Linked DNA regions of Homo sapiens: region 1 is linked to region 2. The links are contacts of gene promoters, found by promoter capture Hi-C in blood cells and fetal thymus (Javierre and others, 2016). All regions are on one chromosome and are shown on one strand. The core of a region is centred on a gene start or on the middle of the fragment in contact, and the rest is flanking DNA. Distances in the headings are between cores, read along the strand shown.

Region 1 (4,705 bases), core at 416-2,915, 360 kb before region 2:
TATAATCTCTCATTGCAGCCACAAACCCCTACTGTATGTGGATGTCCTCCTCACTCTACTTGAACCCTGAATTCCCCATTCTGGGCTACTCAGCACACGTGGATGTCCTCCTTACCTCACCAGGGTTCTGACTGCTGGTGTGGGACCATCTCTTCACCCTGCTTAGGCTTTGACACTGTGCATCAAGCACCACCCTGTATGGATGCCCTCCACATCCTGTGTAGGCTTTTCCCCCACATGGATGCCCTTCTTGCTCTGCTTGGCTTCTGAAACCCACCACCAGGTGCCCACACATGACTACCATCCTCATCCACTTGAGCTCTGACTCTTCATGCCAGGCTGCCCTCCAACCCACGGACCCACTCCTCACTCTGCTTAGGCCTCAATATCCCAAGCCAGACTGCCCCTCTGCATGGATGACTACCTTGCTCTGCCCCACCTAATGTTGCCAGAAAGCTTTATCTGATTATAAAAATCATACACATTCACTGTATAAAATTTGGAAAATATCATTAAAAGCATAGAAAATATATAATCTCACCACCCACAGACATCTGTGCATGTTAACACAACACATATATTTGAAAGATTAATATCACAAAATAAATTATTTTTTGCCTTAAATTTTAATGATCAAGGTTTTCCCTAAAATTTCCAAGACCTTTGAGCGTCATAACAAACCAGCTGGGAAGAGATTAGATACCTCTAAACCATTAAAAGTACTGTCTTGAATTTTTTCAGTACCACCTAATAATTTACTACTTGTAAGTACTGCAGCTTACAAAAGTACCTGACCAGGAAGCTCCGGCACTGGTTAAAGCTCATTAAAAAGAGAAGTTACAATAAAGTTTCCCTGCATTTATTTCAAGCAAGTGCAATCAGGATAGAGCTATTCGGTGTGTTCCAGTGTTATGTGACTCCCTTTTAATAATGTTTGTTATATCTCCTAATTAAGGATTGTGATTTCAAAGAATTAAGTGGGGGACAATAGACAAGTTTACATACCTTCCTAATACCAATAAATGGAGGGCAATTAATTTTAAAGCTTGATTTGCTAGTGTAAATTTAAAGTGTTAATTATAGCTTTAAAATCCCAGTCTGGGCAAAGGGCCACTACTAAGGATTCCATTTATGCAGGCTGTCTTCTATCTGAGAAGTGCTTGTACTGCACTTTCCAATGCATAGTAAAATGCATATGCCTCAGTGGAAGTTTCTTTGGATTAGTTAAAATGCCATGTTGTTGGACATAATTAAATTGTTCCTTTGGGTTTGTGAGGGTTGCAAATCTTTCCAAAAAGGAGCAAGTAAATTCCAAGATGACAGACTCCTAAATGTTCTGGTCACGGCGATCCATTATTGCTCAATTTCTACCACATCTCTAACAGAATATCAGCTGAACTATATCCATTTGTCCCTTGAGATTGTTTCACCTAATTGGGTTTACATTCTGATAAAGGTTAAAACTAGTTCTCCAAACCAAGACACATACATTCATCACTTGTGAAGTGAGGATAAGAATTTTTTTTTATTTATATTTATTTATATTTTTTATTTATTTATTTTTTGAGACGGAGTCTCGCTCTGTCGCCCAGCTGGGGTGCAGTGGTGCGATCTCGGCTCACTGCAACCTCCGCCCCTCCAGGTTTAAGCAATTCTCTGCCTCAGCCTCCGGAGTAGCTGGGATTACAGGCGCGTGCCACCAAGCCCGGCTAATTTTTTGTATTTTTAGTAGAGACAGGGTTTCACCATCTTGACCAGGCTGGTCTTGAACTCCTGACCTCGTGATCCACCTGCCTCAGCCTCCCAAAGTGCTGGGATTACAGGTGTGAGCCACCACGCTCGGCCTTTAATTTATTTATTTTTAGATGAAGTCTTACTTTGTCACCCAGGCTAGAGTGCAGTGGCATGATCTCGGCTCACTGCAACCTCCGCCTCCTGGGTTCAAGCAATTCTCCTGCCTCAGCCTCCAGAGTAGTTGGGACTACAGGTGCGCGCCACCATGCCCAGCTAATTTTTGTATTTTCAGTAGAGATGGGGTTTCACCATGTTGGCTAGGATGGTCTCAATCTCTTGACCTCGTGATCCACCTGCCTTGGCCTCCCAAAATGCTGGGATTACAGGTGTGAGCCACCGTGCCCAGCCAAGAATTATTATTATCATAGCAGATATTTGAACTCTCACTATATACTGTCATTGTACTAATCACTTTATATAAATTTTCTGATTTAACAATTAGAAAATTCACATTATTGCCCTTATTTTTCAGATGAAAAAACTGAAGCTTAGAGAGCTTAAGTAACTTACCAAGAGGCACACAGTTAACAAGGAATGGAGTCTGAATTTAAAGAAAGGCTAACTCCAGAGCCCAAGATTTTAACTATGGTGCCCTATTGCCCCAACTCAGTGGTTCTCAAACTTTTTTGATCTCAGGACCTCTTTATTCTCTTAACAATTATTGTAAAAATTATTGAGGACCCTAAAGAGCTTTTCTTTCTTTTTTCTTTTTTTTGAGACGGAGTTTTGCTTTTGTTGCCCAGGCTGGAGTACAATGGCATGATCTCGGTTCACTGCAACCTCTGCCTCCCGAGTTCAAGCGATTCTCCTGCCTCAGCCTCCTGAGGAGCTGGGATTACAGGCATGTGCTACCATGCCCGGCTGATTTTGTATTTTTAGTAGAGATGGGGTTTCTCCATGTTGGTCAGGCTGGTCTTGAACTCCCGACCTCAGGTGATCTGGCTGCCTTGGCCCCCCAAAGTGCTGGGATTACAGGCATGAGCCACTGTGCCCGGTCAAGAGCTTTTCTTTATGTGGCTTATAGCTATTTGTATTCACTATATTAAAATTGTTTTAACTAAGGAAAATTTAAAATGTTTATTAAATTTCTAAAAAGTAACAGTAATCCAGCCAAGCACGGTGGCTTACGTCTGTAATCCCAGCACCTTAGCAGGCCAAGGCAGGCAGATCACCTGAGGTCAGGAGTTCAGGACCAGCCTGGCCAACATGGTGAAACCCTGTCTCTGCTAAAAATACAAAAGTTAGCCAAGTGTGGTGGCAGGCACTTGTAATCCTAGCTACTCGGGAGGCTGAGGCACGAGAATCACTTGAACCAAGCAGGCGGAGATTGCAGTGAGCCGAGATCACACTATTGCACTCCAGCCTGGGCGACAAGAGTGAAACTCCATTTCAAAATAAAATAAAATAATGGTAATCCCATTACTTTTTAACATAAATAACATAATTTCTGAAAAATACCAATATTTTCTGAAACAGTGATGAAAAGGTAACTTTGCTTTACATATTTACAAATCTCTTCAATGTCTGGCATAGAAGACAGCTGAATTCTCCCAACTGCTTCTGCATTCAATCTGTTGCAATATATTGATTTGGCAGTATGTGAAGAAATCTGATCTCACACAGACATGTAGTTTGAAAAGGGGTGACTATGAATTTAAAACACTCTTTTTTCTTTTTTTTTGAGATGGAGTCTTGCTCTTGTCGCCCAGGCTGTAGTGCAATGGCACGATCTTGGCTCACTGCAACCACCGCCTCCCAGGTTAAAGTGATTCTCCTGCCTCAGCCTCCCAAGTAGCTGGGATTACAGGTGCCCACCACCATGCCTGGCTAATTTTTGTATTTTTAGTAGAGACAGGGTTTCACCATATTGGCCAGGCTGGTCTCAAACTCCTGACCTTGTGATCCGCCTGCCTCGGCCTCCCAAAGTGCTGGGATTACAGGCATGAGCCACTGCGCCTGGCCTAAAATATTCTTTTCTGGTATTACACTAAAACTTATCAATGGCAGTTTCTTTTTTTTTTTTTTTTTTTATTATATCAATGGCAGTTTCTTAAAGATAATTTTCAATGTGAAATGTAGAAACTTATCAATGAACTTTTTGTACTGTTACATTAAAATCCATTGGTCTATCTTGCATTTTGAATGGATCTTTTACCTGTGCATGATTTTTTTAACATTGTGCATTTCTAATCTGAAAAATACTTGTTCACCAAGTTATGAAAATCTTCCAAACCTTGATATAATATGTGTATAAAAAAACACATTCATTAAAATAACCACTGACCTTAGCAGAAAAGTCTTTAAAAGCTGTCAAGATCATGGGGATATATAAAAGTTTTCCAAAATTCCAATTTTTACCAGAAAGCTTGAATTTTGTCATTAGCAACAAATACTGTCAGTTGCTTTCCTAAAAGTACTAGCTCATTTCATTTTTGAGAAAATGTGTGTCAAATAACCGAGTCCGAATAATCATAGTTTGTCATTTTTTCAAGAAAACATGGTGTTTTATAGAAAAGATGGCCACCGGGCGCGATGGCTCATGCCTGTAATCCCAGCACTTTGGGAGGCCCAGGCGGGCGGATCACGAGGTCAGGAGATTGAGACCATCCTGGCTAACACGGTGAAACCTTGTCTCTACTAAATATACAAAAAATTAGCTAGGCGTGGTGGCTGGCGCTTGTAGTCCCAGATACTCAGGAGGCCGAGGCAGGAGAATGATGTGAACCCGGGAGACGGAGCTTGCAGTGAGCGGAGATCACCCCACTGCACTCCAGCCTGGGCGACAGAACAAGCCTCCGTCTCAAAAAAAAAAAAAGAAAAAAAAAGATGGCCAATTCAGCTCACAACTCAATTGCACAAGTGCTTTTCCTTGAGACAACTGTTGTGCTTCAGTATGCAGCAAAAATGCTTT
Region 2 (4,851 bases), core at 1,537-4,036:
CGGGGTTTCACCATGTTGCCCAAGCTGGTCTGGAACTCGAGCTAAAGAGAGGCCGAGGAGGCCGCTCACTTTGGGAGGCCGCCTGTCTCGGCCTCCCACAGTGCTGGCATTACAGGCATAAATCACAGCGCCCGCCAGAAAACTAACAAAATTAGGCGGGCGCAGTGCCACGCACCTGTAGTCCCAGCTACTCAGGAGGCTGAGCTGAGAGGATCGAGTTTGCAGTGAGCTGAGATCCCGCAATGCACTCTCACCTGGGCAACAGAGGGAAACTCTGTTCCCCCAAAAAAATAAAATAAAAAAGAAATTTCCACTCTAAACTACAGTTTTGTTTAAAACGGGGGGAAAAATCCAAGTTAAAACTTTATTATTACTTGAGGCCAAAACTCCTTGATATCCCCTTTATTTCTTCTCATGCATTCAGTGGGTGATCCATAGTGCTACAAGATGTAATGAGGTCAACAAGTAAATTATGCAGAAACACTGAGGGAAGTATCCAGAGGAGGTGAAATTCTAAGTCACAGACTGGAGACTATTATGTAGATGTTTGAGGGAGCGATGGGATAAGAGTTATTTGGAGTCATCCCGCTACAGTCCGGTGGACTTTGGCTTAGGGCAAGACCAAAATACTGCCCCCACAATAAACCCAATGAAGCTGAGTAGAAGCTACCTATACAATGTATTTGCTGAAGTAAATAGGAACCCAAAAAAAATCATTTAAGTAAGATATTAAATATACATCCTTGATATAAGGCTCTCAAATTAGGAGACGGTGCAACCATTGAATAAGTTTCCCCCGCCGGGCGCAGTGGCTCACGCCTGTAATACCAGCACTTTAGGAGGCCAACGCGGGCGAATCACAAGGTCAGGAGATCGAAACCATCCTGGCTAACATGGTGAAACCCCGTCTCTACTAAAAACACAAAAAAATTAGCCTGGTTGGGCCAGGCGCAGTGATTCACGCCTGTAATCCCAGTACTCTGGGAGGCTGAGGATGTGGGATCACCTGAGGTTGGGAGTTCGAGACCAGCCTGGCCAACATGGTGAAACCCCGTCTCTATTAAAAATACAAAAATTAGCTGGGTGTGGTGGCGGGCGCCTGTAGCCCCAGCTACTCGGGAGGGTGAGGCAGGAGAATCGCTTGAACCCAAGAGGCGGAGGTTGCAGTGAGCTGAGATCGCGCCATTGCACTCCAGTCTGGGCAACAGGAGTGAAACTCCGTCTCAAACAACAACAACAACAACAACAAAATTGGCTGGTGTGGTGGCACGCGCCTGTAGTCCCAGCTACTCGGGAGGCTGAGGCAGGAGAATCGTTTGAACCCAGGAGGCGGAAGTTGCAGTGAGCCACCACTCCAGCCTGGGCGATAGAGTGAGACTCCGTCTCAAAAAACAAATAAATAAATAAATAAATAAAAAGGGTCCCCAAATGCACTTTGGTAACTATTAGAAGAGGCAAGGAGGAAGAAGATAATCCCTCAAGACTAGAATTATGTCTGACAGTCTCTTTTCCTAAAACCCGTCTTGATTGGCCTAAACAGACACCAATCAAGGCCCCATCTGTGTCTACTAGGAAGTGGTTTTGAGATTTCTCTCATCTTGAGAGAATCCAGGGCTGCGCCTGCTCTGCTGTCTAGGTCAAGACTTCACCCTCTTGTCTTGTGGATCATCCTCCAAAGACCCTCGGGTTGAGATTTTGCCTTCATCTCTCCTGCCCCTCAATTAGATAACACCTGGCCAATTCCTGTCATTTCAGAAAGCGGGAACACCTTAAGCATCTTTCCTCAACGATCTCTGCTTCTCTCAAAAAGATAGGTTTCTCCATCCCCTGACCGAGCGGGTTACTTTGTTCTCCACCTAGACATCAAGAGGCACCTAGACACCTTCCATCCCCTCAGGTTTGGACGCTGCTCTTTCGTACTTCAGGAGGCTCTAGGAGTCTTCCTACCACGCGCTCATCTGTGGGGAGACCTGGGCCTGCTCACTTCCCCTTAGAGCTCCTCTTCCTTCCCTGCCTTTGGAAAAAACCTGCCCTTTTTTCCCTTGTTCTGAGTGGCCGAGGCCTCTACCGCGCCCCTCGGGATAAGCTGGACTCTGCTCTCCTCAGAAGAACCCACTCTGTACTCTTGCTCTCCCGCCAAGGCTCCGAGAGGGTCTCCTCCCAGGCGGGCATCCGGGCTTCCAGCACCTATCGTCCCCCTCCCACTGGGCAGGACCCAGGCCTCCAACCAGCTCCTCATCCAAGGGCCCGGTGCTCCCCGGACCCCGCCTTTGGGGATACCCCAGGCTCCCCGGACCCCTCGATGGGGTCCTGGGCGCCTGGCCCTCTCAGTCCGGAGTCACTCCGGCCCCTCCTGGCCCCTGAGCCGAGTACTTCCGGGCCCCTCGGTCCGGGGGCGCCGGGGCCCCCCCAGTGGTGGACTCGCCGGTTCCCGCCGCCCTGGTCTGGGGCCCGAGCCCCGGCGGCGCGGCCGGCTGCGCTGGGGGCGGCCCGGCGGCTCGGGCGGACCCAGCGGCAGCGTCCCCCCACCCCCCCGCGGCGCCGCGACGTCCGCTCGCTCCCCGGCGGCGGCGGCGGCACGCACAGGGCGTGGGGAGGCGCCCGCGGAGGCAGCAGCCCCCCGCCCCCTGCGCGCCCGCCCGCCCTCGCCGGCCGCCGCGCGGCCCCCGCGCCCGCCCCCCCGCCCCCACCCCACCCCGCGCCCGCGCGCCCACCCCTCCCCCTCCTCACCGTCTCCGTCGGGCGGGCGGGCGGCGAGCGGCCAGGGCGGGCAGGCGACGGAGCATGCGCAGAGGCCGCCACGGCAGCTACCGCCACCGCCGCCGCCAGGCCGGGCTTCAACACTTCCGGCCGCCGCCGCCGGAGAGCTGGCGCCTTAAAGGGGACGCGTCCCTATTGCCGGTCCCACCGAGGATTAACCTTAGCCAAGGGATTTGGGCCTTACCTAAGCAGAATTCTTTCGCCCTTGAAAATCAGTGTTGGAAAGGTCGCTAGAGACCCCAGTAACTCTCCTTCCCGCACTCATAGATGAGGAAAATAGGCCCTAAATGAAAGAATCACCTCAACCACAATTGAGGGCCAAGCTAGCTTTCTCGACTCCTCTGGAGGACTCTACTCCATTTACCTCCCCAAATCCTGTTTTATGAAGTTTACATCTTATCGGACCCTTCAAGTTACAATCCAGCTATCAGTTTGCAATCAGAAGATCTGCATAGATCAGTAACTGGTCACGAGTCCTTGAGCAAGCCCTAAGCATTGTCTGACCCGTGCCTGTTTGCCAAGTTTTTCCTGCTTGTGAGTTTCTGGGTTGAAGTCTTGACTCCCCTGCTGGAAGTGTAAACGACTCTGGAGGAATTTCTTGACAGCTCTAAACCTGTTTCCGATAAGACATAATGTGAGTGCTAAAGAAGGTGATACCTGCATGAAAAGTGCTTCAGAGAGTTCCTGGGGTCAGTAATAGTAATTAACAAGTATTAAGACCTTTATTTTTTATTTATTTATTTATTTTTTTAGACAGAGTCTTGCTCTTTGGCCAGGCTGGAGTGCAGTGGCGCGATCTCGGCTCACTGCAGCTTCAGCCTCCTGGGTTCAAGTGATTCTCCGGCCTCAGCCTCCCGAAGAGCTGGCACTAGAGGCGCGCGACACCACGCCCGGCAATTTTTTTTTTTTTTTGTATTTTAGTAAAGACAGGATTTCACCATGTTGGCCAGGATGGTCTCAATATCTGACCTCATGATCCACCCGCCTGGGCCTCCCAAAGAGCTGGGATTACAGGCGTGAGCCACCGCGCCCGGCCGTATTAAGACCTTTCTATGGCCAGGTGTGGTGGCTTACGCCTGTAATCCCACACTTTGGGAAGCCGAGGCGGACAGATCACTTGAGACCAGGAGTTCGAGACCAGCCTGGGCAACATGGTGAAACCCCGTCTCTACTAAAAATACAGAAATTAGCCGGGCGTCGTGGCACGCGCCTCTAGTCCCAGCTACTCAGAAGGCTGAGCCAGGAGAATCACTTGAACCCGGGAGGCGGAGGTTGCAGTGAGCCGAGATCAGGCCATTGCACTCCAGCCTGGGCAACAGAGTGAGACTCTATCTCAAAAAACAAACAAACAAAAAGACCTTTCTATGGCCTATGGCTTGGTGAAGATGCTTCTGTCTTGTATAATCCTCACAGCAACCCTACTAAGTAAGTTTCTCTTTTTTTTTTTTTTTGAGACGGAGTCTTGCTCTGTCGCCCAGGCCGGAGTGCAGTGGCGCAATCTCGGCTCACTGCAAGCTCCGCCTCCTGGGTTCACACCATTCTCCTGCCTCAGTCTCCTCAGTAGCTAGGACTACAGGCGTCCGCCACTACGCCTGGCTAATTTTTTTGTATTTTTTAGTAGAGACAGGGTTTCACCGTCTTAGCTAGGATGGTCTCGATCTCCTGACCTTGTGATCCGTCCGCCTCAGCCTCCCAAAGTGTTGAATTACAGGCGTGAGCCACCGCGCCCGGCCCTTCTTTTCTTTTCTTTCTTTTTTTCTTTTTTTTGGTGGGGGGGACCGGTCTGGGTTGATCTCCCAGGCTGAGTGCAGTGGCGGGATCTCGGCTCACTGCAGCCCCAGCCTCCAGTGCTCAAGCAGTCCTCCTGCCTCAGCCCCCGGAGTAGCTGGGACCACAAGCAGGAACCACCATGCCTGGCTAATTTTTACATTTTTAGTAGAAATGGGGTTTTACCATGTTGCCCACTCTGGTCTCTAACTCCTGGGCTCAAGCAATCCTCCTGCCTTGGCCTCCCAAAGTGCTGGGATTACAGGTGTGAGCCACCATAATTGTTTGTTTATTGATTGATTGATTTGGAGACGGAGTCTCGGT

What was found. Contacts are between HindIII fragments. The CHiCAGO score rates a contact against its expected background, and 5 or more counts as called.
Region 1: a contact is called between a fragment that was not itself captured here and the fragment with the promoter of GMEB1 in region 2, in 3 of 17 cell types (M2 macrophages, naive B cells and monocytes). The highest score is 7.3, in M2 macrophages.

Annotation. Positions count from the first base shown.
Region 1 is chr1:29,021,492-29,026,196 of GRCh38, reverse strand. All of the region lies in intron 7 of EPB41 (erythrocyte membrane protein band 4.1), which reads right to left. Among named protein-coding and RNA genes, the nearest start is that of TMEM200B, 100 kb to the left of the region's middle. The HindIII fragment of the contact is 1,236 bases long and covers 1,048-2,283 here.
Region 2 is chr1:28,666,719-28,671,569 of GRCh38, reverse strand. It overlaps GMEB1 (glucocorticoid modulatory element binding protein 1), which reads right to left and starts at 2,786. Exons shown (of 10, transcript NM_001319674.2): 1 at 2,731-2,786. RefSeq lists enhancers at 1-46, 1,545-1,604, 1,655-1,704 and silencers at 2,235-2,524, 2,535-2,644, 2,675-2,814. The HindIII fragment of the contact is 26,935 bases long and covers 1-4,851 here.